2 separate regions of the Homo sapiens genome follow, and region 1 is linked to region 2. Evidence: promoter capture Hi-C in 16 types of primary human blood cells and fetal thymus (Javierre and others, 2016). All regions are on one chromosome and are shown on one strand. The core of a region is centred on a gene start or on the middle of the fragment in contact, and the rest is flanking DNA. Distances in the headings are between cores, read along the strand shown. Region 1 holds the start of GPHA2 (glycoprotein hormone subunit alpha 2). Region 2 holds the start of MIR6879 (microRNA 6879).

What was found. The method cuts DNA at HindIII sites, captures the fragments that hold promoters and counts their contacts. A CHiCAGO score of 5 or more calls a contact.
Region 1: the fragment with the promoter of GPHA2 here is called in contact with a fragment that was not itself captured in region 2 in 1 of 17 cell types (endothelial precursors); the score reaches 5.5 in endothelial precursors.

The regions. Positions count from the first base shown.
Region 1 is chr11:64,932,176-64,937,973 of GRCh38, reverse strand. GPHA2 (glycoprotein hormone subunit alpha 2) reads left to right here and starts at 2,081. Exons shown (of 4, transcript NM_130769.4): 1 at 2,081-2,140; 2 at 2,514-2,616; 3 at 2,799-2,983; 4 at 3,100-3,503. The coding sequence starts at 2,514. The coding sequence ends at 3,201. It overlaps PPP2R5B (protein phosphatase 2 regulatory subunit B'beta), which reads right to left. Exons shown (of 14, transcript NM_006244.4): 12 at 5,082-5,209; 13 at 4,728-4,829; 14 at 3,499-4,277. The coding sequence ends at 4,130. The HindIII fragment of the contact is 3,228 bases long and covers 679-3,906 here.
Region 2 is chr11:65,014,931-65,020,486 of GRCh38, reverse strand. It overlaps ARL2 (ARF like GTPase 2), which reads right to left. Exons shown (of 5, transcript NM_001667.4): 2 at 2,013-2,123; 3 at 1,754-1,916; 4 at 1-68. It overlaps ARL2-SNX15 (ARL2-SNX15 readthrough (NMD candidate)), which reads right to left. Exons shown (of 11, transcript NR_037650.2): 2 at 2,013-2,123; 3 at 1,754-1,916. It overlaps MIR6879 (microRNA 6879), which reads right to left and starts at 1,982; the gene lies at 1,917-1,982. The HindIII fragment of the contact is 936 bases long and covers 1,455-2,390 here.

The DNA of each region.
Region 1 (5,798 bases), core at 832-3,331, 83 kb after region 2:
TCTCTATCCCTTTAACTGTTTGACAGTAATGCAGATTCGTTTATCAGATTAACTGGAAGTCAATCCAGGTTGGCACCCCTGGAGAAGGCCTGGCCACCTGAGCTGCCTTCAACTAAAGGACTGATCTGTAATAGACACTTTAGCCTCATGTGGCCGTGGAGAACCAAAATGATCTATGGAAATGTAGGGAAACTCATTTTAGCTCACAACAAAGGAGTCACTTTTTACCTGTTAGAGATGTCCAATATTAGAATGGGCTACCTCATAAGGTAATGAGCCTTGTCACCCAAATGCTTTAAACAGAAGCCATCATCTGTCACATGCCAGAGGGTGCCCCTCAAGAGTGGGAGAGCAGGGGCTGAACTGCTGAGTTCCCGCTGCGTCCTGTTGCTATGCTGCCTGCACCCTTGGTGGGGAGAAGAGAAGAGGTGGACTGCTGCGGAGGACCTGGCAAACAAGGACCCAGGTCTTGAGGGGATGGGGGCTGATGGGGAAACCGTAGGGTGTGGGAATTTAAGGATTAGTGACATTAGTAACATCACTTCCTCTCAAATTGCGTTTACAGCCTTTACTCGACTGTCCCAAACATGGCCTGTTTTACAAAGCTGCTAAGAAGCACAGCTCCAAATCTGGAGCTGTGAGTGCCCGCCCTGACTCTGACTAGCTTACAGTGAAGCTTTGGGAAGTTGTTTTCCGCTGAGCTCTTATTTTCTCATCCAGAAAATGAGGGGGTAGGATTTGGTGAGTTATAAAGTGCCTTCTAGCTCTAGCAGTCTGTGACTGGCCCTGCTCTTTCTGAGCAGATCAGTGAGGCAATGACCCCAAAGCGGGGCTGCCCAGAATCACCACAGGCTTCCTTTGGCTCTCCACCTTGCCCCAACCCCTCTGGCCACTGCTGCCTGGGGGTCTTTCTCCAGCTTGCCACATTCTTGCTCAAGTGTAGTTTAGCACCATGGATGGACAGCAGATTTGAATTTGAAATCAGCCCTAACATTAACTAGCTGGGTGACTTTTAGTAACTTTCTTTCTTTGAGCCTTAGTTGCCTCATCTATAAAACCAGAGTTGGACAAATAGATCAGCTTTGCTGGGGTTGATAACTTCAGGCCCTTTCAGGAGTCAGGTCCCTGTTATTCCAGGGCTAGGGGAGCACTCCAGCTCAGAACGTTACTCTGTAGCACAGGATGCGAATCATCCACTGATACCGTGGCCATGCAACTCTGAAACAGACAGCAACCCCCAAACCCCCGGCCCTGCCACCAAGCACATCTCAGGAGACCTCCACTGGTATAATTTCCCTTGTCCCTAAGAATCTCCTTCCCCAATCCCTTTCCTTTGCAGTTAGAAAAAGGCAAGCAGGACTGAGTTTAGTGGTTTTAAAATTAGGGGTGTGGCCAGGCACAGTGTCTCATGCCTGTAATTCTAGCACTTTGGGAGGCCTAAGCAGGCGGATCACTTGAGCTTAGCAGTTCAAGACCACCATGGGCAACATGGCAAAATCCTGTCTCTACAAAAAAATACAAAAGTTAGCTGGTCATAGTGGTGTGCCTGTGGTCCCAGCTACTCAGGAGGCTAAGGGGGAGGATGGCTTGAGTCTGGGAGGCTGGGAGGTGGAGGTTGCAGTGAGCCGAGATAACACCACCACACTCCAGCCTAGGTGACAGAGCCAGACCCTCTCAAAATAATAGTAATAAATAATAATAAAGTTAGGGGTGATCAGGCCCTGAACAGGGAAATGTTCTGTCCAAGGTCACAGAGCAAAGAGAACCCAGGTGTCCACAACTCAGCCAAGAGTCTTGACCCCTGTGTCGTCAGCTGCACACACGCTGCACACTCCACCAGCTCCTAGGCTTCTCTCCACATCTGACTTATCGAGGCCTGGGCTGTGGGTAGCTTTTTGGACAGAAAGAAGCAGAAAGCAGCAGGAGCTGCTCTCCGAGGACCGCACCTCAAAGAGCAAGATCCCCCAGGTGGGATCGCTCTGAGGCTTCAGGCAGGGGAGGCTGGTTTGAAAGCCGATCTCCAAGAGGGCGTGGCTCCAAAATGCTGGCAAATAAAAGCCTGGAGAGCCAGCACCAAGCTGGAGACCAGCAGGAGGCACAGGAAAACTGCAAGCCGCTCTGTTCCTGGGCCTCGGAAGTGGTGAGCTCGCTGAGGCAGGAGGAGCTCTGGGGAGGGTCTGGGAATGTGGACGAGGGCCCTGCAGGCCAAGATGGGGCAGATGGAGGGAGGAAGATGTTTGCGCTCCAGATGGCGAAGAAAATTCCAGGGAAGGGAGAATCACTGCACAGAGGGCTGACACACAGGTCCTTTCCAGAGACAGCTGCTCACACTCACACCCATACACACACACACACACACACAAAGGCAGATACAGGGAAAAGGCAGCACCATTCAGGCACACCTCACCTGTCAGACCAGCCAGCCCTGGCTCACTCACCTGGAATGCAGTATTTAAAGAACTCGCCATCCCACCTGCACACCCACGTAGAGACATCTCCCCACTGTGTTTCAGATGCCTATGGCGTCCCCTCAAACCCTGGTCCTCTATCTGCTGGTCCTGGCAGTCACTGAAGCCTGGGGCCAGGAGGCAGTCATCCCAGGCTGCCACTTGCACCGTGAGTACCTCTGGGACCGGAGGGCTAGGAGCAGTGGAGGTTCTGGGTGGGAGCAAAGAGCTGAGTGGACGGTGGGGCAGGCAGCACCCTAAAGGGCCCCACACTGAGGCACAGGCAACGGGAGCTGGGGCGAGGCAAACCTTGGCAGAGGCGCCGTCTACTGCTTGCCTATCTCCTTCTAGCCTTCAATGTGACAGTGCGAAGTGACCGCCAAGGCACCTGCCAGGGCTCCCACGTGGCACAGGCCTGTGTGGGCCACTGTGAGTCCAGCGCCTTCCCTTCTCGGTACTCTGTGCTGGTGGCCAGTGGTTACCGACACAACATCACCTCCGTCTCTCAGTGCTGCACCATCAGTGGCCTGAAGAAGGTGAGGAGGGCCCGGGCCCGGTGGATGGACGCTGGGGTCGCGGGAAGACCAGAGAGATGGAGATCCTAGACAGCCCTGAGAAAGGGGACTGCAGCACGGACTCCCCTCTCCCGCAGGTCAAAGTACAGCTGCAGTGTGTGGGGAGCCGGAGGGAGGAGCTCGAGATCTTCACGGCCAGGGCCTGCCAGTGTGACATGTGTCGCCTCTCTCGCTACTAGCCCATCCTCTCCCCTCCTTCCTCCCCTGGGTCACAGGGCTTGACGTTCTGGTGGGGGAAACCTGTGTTCAAGATTCAAAAACTGGAAGGAGCTCCAGCCCTGATGGTTACTTGCTATGGAATTTTTTTAAATAAGGGGAGGGTTGTTCCAGCTTTGATCCTTTGTAAGATTTTGTGACTGTCACCTGAGAAGAGGGGAGTTTCTGCTTCTTCCCTGCCTCTGCCTGGCCCTTCTAAACCAATCTTTCATCATTTTACTTCCCTCTTTGCCCTTACCCCTAAATAAAGCAAGCAGTTCTTGAATTTCTCTCTTTATTAAGTCTACCCCCAGCCACGGAAAGAGGAGTAGACCATGATTACTGTGAACCCCCCCTTACCCCAGGACACTGTGAATCTCTTCTTGCCTGTGCCCTCCCCCTCCCCCTGCCCAATAAATAAAAAGGGGACAAGGAAGTACACAGCGAGGGAAGGGAGGAGTGTGCACCCAGGACAGTGTCTGTGTAGAGGGTGAGCTGGGCGAGAATAAATAGACCATGGACCCCATGGTGGGGATAAGGAAGGACCTCGCATTGGCCAAGGCAGGGGCAGGCGAGGCGCTGAGTGCCCTTGCCCAAGGCCAGGAGCAGAGGGTGGGAGCCCGCCTGCAGCTGGAGCCTAGCTTTGCGGGGCAGGGGAAGATCCCTGATGGCAGCTTCCTGGTCAAGCTTGCCCTTGTCAAGTCCTGCCACGAGGGGCTGAGCATTCTGTTGCCAAGACCACCATTGCCTCTCCTCGTCTCCCCCCAGTGAAAGCTGGGCTGGGCAGGGAGTCCTCAGAAGCCACTCTGGCAAGGCCAGGGGTAGGTGTGTTTCTCTCTGGGCCCCTGGACAGGAGAAGGGATAGAGGGACTGACAGCTCTGGGTTTAGCTTTTCCCCTTCTGAGGTGCTGTCTAGCTCTGACCCCCACTGGCGGCCACCTGGGGTGTAAGCCGCTGGAGGGGGGCCTCCTTGGCCCCCTGGGTCCCCTGTAGCCGGCGTAGCCGCAGCTCCTCCAGACCTTGCCATAACTCCTGACGCTCCTGGGCCTTCTGCTGCTCCCTGGGGAGAGAGGGTGAGGCAGCTCCCTTTCCTGGGGCCCCCCACAGTCCAGACTCCCTCACAGTCCAGACTCCCTCACTACCACCCCACCGGCAAAGGGAAGGCATGGAACCATTTTTGTTCTGTGACTCCATAAAAACCCTCTACTGAGGGAAGAGAGCAGAGGACAGACAGATCCCAGCCTGCAGTCACAGAGAAGATGACGGGTGGGGCCTGAGTGGTTCTGGCTTCTGTAGGAAGCTACAGGGAGTCAGAACAAGTCTGAGCTACTCGAAGAATGACGGGAGGATACAGGGGCAGACAGTCAGGCATAGGATGGCAGGAGCATGGACAGTCTTGCAGCATCTGATCAGACAGAGTTTGGGGTAGTCCTCGGGTTCCCTCCAGCCATGGGGGTCTGACTCCTCCCTGCTCTTCTCCCTTCCCCCACGCCCAGCCCCCAACACTCACTGCTGCTTTTCCAGCTTGTAGGAGGCTGTGAGCTCATCAAACAGCTTCCCATTCATCTCCATGAAGGTCTTGAGCACATTGTAGATCAGTGATACGATGGTTCTTGGCAGTGTCAAGGAGGGATGAGGAGATGAAACAGCTTTGGTTTGCCCACCTCTCCCTTTCCCTGCCCTTCACATACAGCATTCCACCTGAACACAAGCACTGCCCACTTTCCTGTCCTTTTCACCACCCCTGGGCCATCTTTTGATGCTTTCTCTGATATTCTCCAGCTAGGAGTAACCCTGGGGTCGGGTCTGGACTGGCTGGCCCTGGTCCCAGTTTCTGTGAGTTAGGTCATGGCCTGGCACTCACTGGTTCCAGTGCTCCTTGGAGACTTGGTAGAGGGTCCCAAACACAGCAGGCAGCACAGTGTGGCAGTTGTCCTCAATGAGGCTTAGGATATACTCATTGTTCCAGAAATACAGAGCCCGCTCTGCAACCTGGGGCAGACAAGATGGCAGAGTGATTAACTGGCAGTGGCTTCTCTCTGTGTGCAAGGTCTGGTGTCCATCACTACCTCAACGCCCAGGCCCCCTGACCTTCACACACCCCACCTTCAGGGCTTATCTGAGCCCTGGAGGAAGCAACAGTGTTGAAGGGAAAAGAGTTCTAGATACGGAATCCAATGCTGCGGGGTGAATCCTAACCACTACAGACTCTACTATGCCATGTGACCTTGGGAGAGGCATTTAACCTCCCAGCCTCAGTTTTCTCATCTGTAAAATGGGCTAATAATACCTATCTCAACAGGATGTTATAAGAATCAAATGAGATACTAGACTTTTAGGTGTTTAATGAACCGAAGTGCCAGAATCACTGTGAGGAAGACTTGACTTCCACTGGGTTATGGCCCATAAGAACGGGAGGAAGTCTGCACATGCTTGCAGCAGAACATGAGTTAGTTAGCTGGGTTGGTGCGGGGAAGCCTGGCTGCATCCCAAAGCGAGTCTAATGAAATCTAAGGCCACTAGCAAAAGGGGAAAAGTGATAACAGTCCTCCATCACATTCTGGATCACACTTCAGTTTAC
Region 2 (5,556 bases), core at 673-3,172:
TTAGAGGACAGTGCTCCAGGCAGGTCCTGCTTATTAGCAAAGATGAGGAGGGTTGCTCCGGCCAGGCGCTGGGGGAGAAAAGATAGAGGGGTGGGGTGGGGACTCAGAGGACAGCCTGACCCCTCCTCTAATGGCCCAGAGCATCTGGGGTGAAGGATCGACCTGGAAGATCAAGGTGAGGCCCCGTGGTGGTGGGAGAGGCCCAGGAGTGAGTTTGTGGACGTAGCCATCAAGGCTGGCCCACATGAATGGAGCAGCCCTGGGCCAGGGTTCTGGTTCCAGCCAACCACCACCCAGGGGACACCGCTGTCCCCATGCTCCAGCTTCCTCTTCCATGAACAGGGAGGGGTGTTGCATAAGATGATCCCTGAGCTCTCCGTGGTTCTAGACTGCTCCAATCTGATGACCAGACATGCACAGAGGATGTGAACTCTCCCTCTTCTGGGTTCACACAGCCCTTTAACCGTTCCACTCCCGACAGGCCTCACTGTCCACCTCTGATTCTAGTTGTTTCCACATATGTGTCTGTGATTGGGAGAGATGTGGGTGGACGGGTCTAACCCTTGGGCCTTGACCTGCCTTGACCAGCATTTGACGGCCCTGATCTCATCTGACCTGCTCCACCCACATAGGAGATGTGTGCGGTGTGCCCAGGACAGTCCCCACTCTGCCTGCAGAATCCCCCCTTTCACTCTCACAAGTGTCCTCATTTTCAACTAAATGCAATTTTGTAGCCTGAATCAAACATTGGAACACAAAAAGTATATTAGTGGAAAAACGTGAAATTCAAATAAAATCTGTAATTAAGATAATAGTAATTCACCAGTGTTGATTTATTAGTTTGGACAGGCCACGGTTAGGTAAGATGGGGAAGCAAGGTAAAGGGTATATGGGGGACCTCTGACCTCTGTACTATCTTTGCAAGTGTCCTTCTTTTTTTTTTTTGAGACGGAGTCTCACTCTGTTGCCCAGGCTGGAGTGCAGTGGCACAATCTCGGCTCACTGCAAGCTCCGCCTCCCAGGTTCACGCCATTTTCCTGCCTCAGCCTCCTGAGTAGCTGGGACTACAGGCGCCCGCCACCATGCCTGGCTAATTTTTTGTATTTTTAGTAGACACGGGGTTTCACCATGTTAGCCAGGACGGTCTCGATCTCCTGACCTCGTGATCCGCCCGCTTCAGCCTCCCAAAGTGCTGGGATTACAGGCGTGAGCCACCGCACCTGGCCCCTTCCTTTTTTTTTTTTTTTGAGACAGGGTCTTGCTCTGTCGCCCAGGAGGCTGGAGTGCAGTGGCACGATCACAGCTCACTGCAGCCTCAACCTCCTGGGCTCAACTGATCCTCCTGTCTGAGCCTCCAGAGTAGCTAGGACTATAGGTGCGTGCCACCACCCCCAGCTGAGGTCACACAGCAAAGAGTCAGACTCTTGAGCCAGGCTCCATGGCCTCTCGAAGCTTCATACTGGCCTTGGGTTATCCTCCCTAAAGCCCAGTGATGTGGGTGTCATCATCACCATTTCAAGGCATAGAAACTGATGCTCAGGGTAGTGACGTAGTAACACCACAGGGACGTTAACTCAATCTCAGTCCACAGCATGTGTCCTGCCTCTGGCACCATGGGCCTCCCATGGTGGGGGCCCAGAGAAGGAAGGGATCCTGCCTCTGGTTTCCCTCTGGGGCCACGGGCCCCTCTGGGCATCTGCTGAGAAGGCAGCCACACGTCCATACATGTACACAAAGGGTAGGAGCTGCCCACCTCCTCCACCAGCAGGCTCTGGAGCTCCCGCTGGCAGTCCTGCATGCGCTGGCGGTCTGCGCTGTCCACTACCCAGATGAGGCCATCGGTGCTCTCAAAGTAGTTCCGCCAGTAGGACCGCAGGGACTTCTGGCCACCCACATCCCAGATGTTCAGCTTGAATCTGGGCAAGGAGCGGGTGACAGGAGGGTCAGCTGGGCCCCTCTCCCACCTTCCCTGCCCTGCTCTGGGCTGGCCCTCCCATGGGGCCCCTGCTCACCCTCGGTGCTCCAGGGTCTTGATGTTGAAGCCCAGCGTTGGGGAGATGGTGTCGATGTCCTCCCCATTGAACTTCTTCAGGATGGTTGTCTTTCCAGCATTGTCCAGGCCACTGGGGCGCAGCAGGTTAAGGAGAAGTCCCTGTTCTCTGCCAGGTGGTGACATTGTTGCAGAGCCCCTTAGGGGACTCATTATTTCCCACCATGTATCAAACTGAGTTGAGCACATGCCTGACCATAATCGGCCCACAATAAATATGAAAGTATCAAATTATAAATATCATCTCTACTGACCAAAGGCTCCTTAATTTGTTGAACACCTACTATGTGCCAGACCCTCTTCTGGGTGCTAGAGGACAAAGCCCTGCCCTTAGGAAGCTTACACTCTAGCGGGAAGACAGTCAATAAAGTACAAACAAATGAGAAAAGAAGGCCCTGCCAGATCCCGGCTAGCGCCATCAACACAACAGAGAGGCTTTCCAAGAGGGCCATCGGAGGAGGCTCTTTCAGCTCAGGTGCCGGGGAAGGCCTCTCTGAGGTGTCTGGAGCTGAGACCCAAAATACAAGGAGCAAGCTTTTTGAAGAACTAAGGTAAGAACAAATATCTGGAGGCAGCCACCCTCATTTGTTTCTGGAATATTCCAGACCTGCTACTGCACAGTGCAAATTAATGGGTGTGCTTACCTGTGGAAGGAACCACCCTCCTCTATCTTCCCAACACTGCAGCTCAGTTGGGCATGGTGGGGTGGGCGGGTCCTGGACTCGACCACCTTTCCCTGCTCATCGGAGCTGGGGCAAATGACCTAGGCCCAGGAGAGGGGTGAGGAGGGCATTTCCCCTGAGGCCCAGCCTTAGCCCCTGGAACCTAGCCGCTGATGACCCCCTGCCCCCAAGCCATCATCCATGTTTCCTTCCCCTCTTGATCATTCCCACTGGCTGATGAGCTTGCCGTTCTTTCTCCCACCTTAAAAAGAGCAAATAGGCCGGGCGCGGTGGCTCACACCTGTAATCCCAGCACTTTGGGAGGCCAAGGTGGGTGGATCATCTGAGGTCAGGAGTTCGAAACCAGCCTGACCAACAAGGTGAAACCCCATCTCTACTAAAACTACAAAAATCAGCCAGGCGTGGTGGCGGGCCCCTATAGTCCCAGCTACTCGGGAGGCTGAGACAGGAGAATTGCTTGAACCCGGCAGGCAGAGGTTGCAATGAGCCGAGATCACACCACTGTACTCCAGCCTGGGCGACTCAGCGAGACCCCGTCTGATTAAAAAAAAAAAAAGAGCAAACAAAGCCCTTGATCTCTCTGCCCCATCTAGTTATTCATTTATATCTTTCCTTTTACAGGAAATCTCAAAATAGTTGTTTGTGCTCACCCCCATTTCTGCCTTCTTGCTCTTTCAAGAACACACTCCCATCAGGCTTTTGCTGCTGCTGTGGCCAAAACTGTCCTTACCAAGGTCAGTCCCCAAAGACCTCCCTGTGGCCCTCTAGTGCTGGGACAGCGCTCAGTCATCTTCTGTTCCCCACTCAGCACCTGATGGAGTGGCTCACCCTCCTCCCCAGCACATGCGCTGCCCTTGGCACTGGGACACACCCTCACCTGGTTCTGCTCCTCACCTGACTTCATCCTGGTACAACCGGGTTCTCTTCTCTGGCCACGCTCATCCCTGGGTGACCTCATCCAGGATCACAGCTTCAAATACCATCTCTATCCTGATAACACCCAAATGTGCACCTCCCACACACTGGACCTCAGTGCCTACATCCAGCTGCCTGCCTGACACTTCTGGGCTGTCTCGGAGGCATCTCACATGGCACACACAGGCACACACAGGGTTCTCATCTCCACCCTGAACCTGCTCCTCCCCCAGTCCTCTCCATCTCAGCAAATGGTTCCTCACCCTTCTAATTGCTCAGGCCAGAAACTTCCATGACCTCACTACTTCCATCCTGGTCCAAGCCACCATCCTATCTCGCCTGCGTCACTGCAGTGGCCTAACTGGTCTGCGATTCCTTCTCTCCACTGCACTTCTCACTGAAAGGGAAAACCAAAAACCAAAAGGCCCTAGGTGAGGGGGTTCCCAGTCAACGCTCCTCCTCCCCACTCCAGCCATACTGCCCTCCTCACCAGTCCTCTGAACACGCCAGTTAGTCCTCCCAGGGCCTCTGACTTGCTGTTCCCTTTGCTTTAAAGTTTCCCCCCCCCCCGAATTGCTATATGGTTCAACCCTCGCCTCCCTCATGTACTCAATTGTCATTTTTTTTTTTTTTAACAGAGTTTCGCTCTTGTCACCCAGGCTGGACTGCAATGGCGTGATCTCAGCTCACTGCAGTCTCCGCCTCCCGGGTTCTGGCAATTCTCTTGCCTCAGCCTCCCAGGTAGCTGGGATTAAAGGTGTCCACCACCACATCCAGCTAATTTTTGTATTTTCAGTAGAGACGGGATTTCACCATGTTGGCCAGACTGGTCTCAAAACTCCTGACATCAGGCGATCCATCCGCCCCGGCCTTTCAAAGTGCTGGGATTACAGGCATGAGCCACTGCGCCCTGCCATCATACAGTGGCCTTCTTTGACCACCCTAAATTGCATTATTCTCCATACCTATATACGTAGTGGGAGTTCATCCTGGAGCAGTATAAGGCCCTGTTCCCCAGAAGCATGGTCCAAAGCATGGCCCATATATATATAGTATGTATGGAGAATATATATATGTATAAATAGAGACAGAGTCTCACTATGTTGCCCAGGCTGGTCTCAAACACCTGGGCTCAAGCGAACCTCCCACCTCAGCCTCCCAAAGTGCTAGGGTTACAGGTGTGTGCCACCGCACCCAGCCTCTATTACATATTTTACTTACTTCCTGTGTTATCATCTTTCTACCCGCGGGCAACCCCCCCGCCACACACACACACACGCATTACAGAATTTCCATGAAGGTAAGATTTTTTAGTTTTATTACCCTGGGCACTAGGACAGTGTCTAGCACATATTAGGCACTCAATATTTATCAAATGAGTGAACTGTATGCTTTTCTTAGAGCTCTTTAAAGCAGACATGCGGCCCGGCGCAGTGGCTCACGCCCATAATCCCAACAGTTTGGGAGGCCAAGGCGGGTGGATCACTTGAGGTCAGGAATTCGAGAACAGCCTGACCAACAAGGTGAAACCCCGTCTCTACTAACAATATTTAAAAAAATAGCCGGGCGTGGTGGCGGGCACCTGTAATCCCAGCTACTTGGGAGGCTGAGGCAGGAGAATTGCTTGAACTCGGGGGGCGGAGGTTGCAGCGAGCTGAGATTGTGCCACTGCACTCCAGCCTGGGCAACAAGAGCGAAACTCCGTCTCAAACAAAACAAAATAAAACAGACATGGGCCGGACTCCGTGGCTCATGCCTATATTCCCAGAGTTTTGGGAGGCTGAGGCAGGAGGATCACTTAAGCCTAGAAGCTGGAGGCTGCGGTGAGCCTTGATTGTGCCACTGCACTCCAGCCAGGGCAACAGAGCAAGACCCTGTCTCAAAAAACAAAACAGTCATGATGTGATT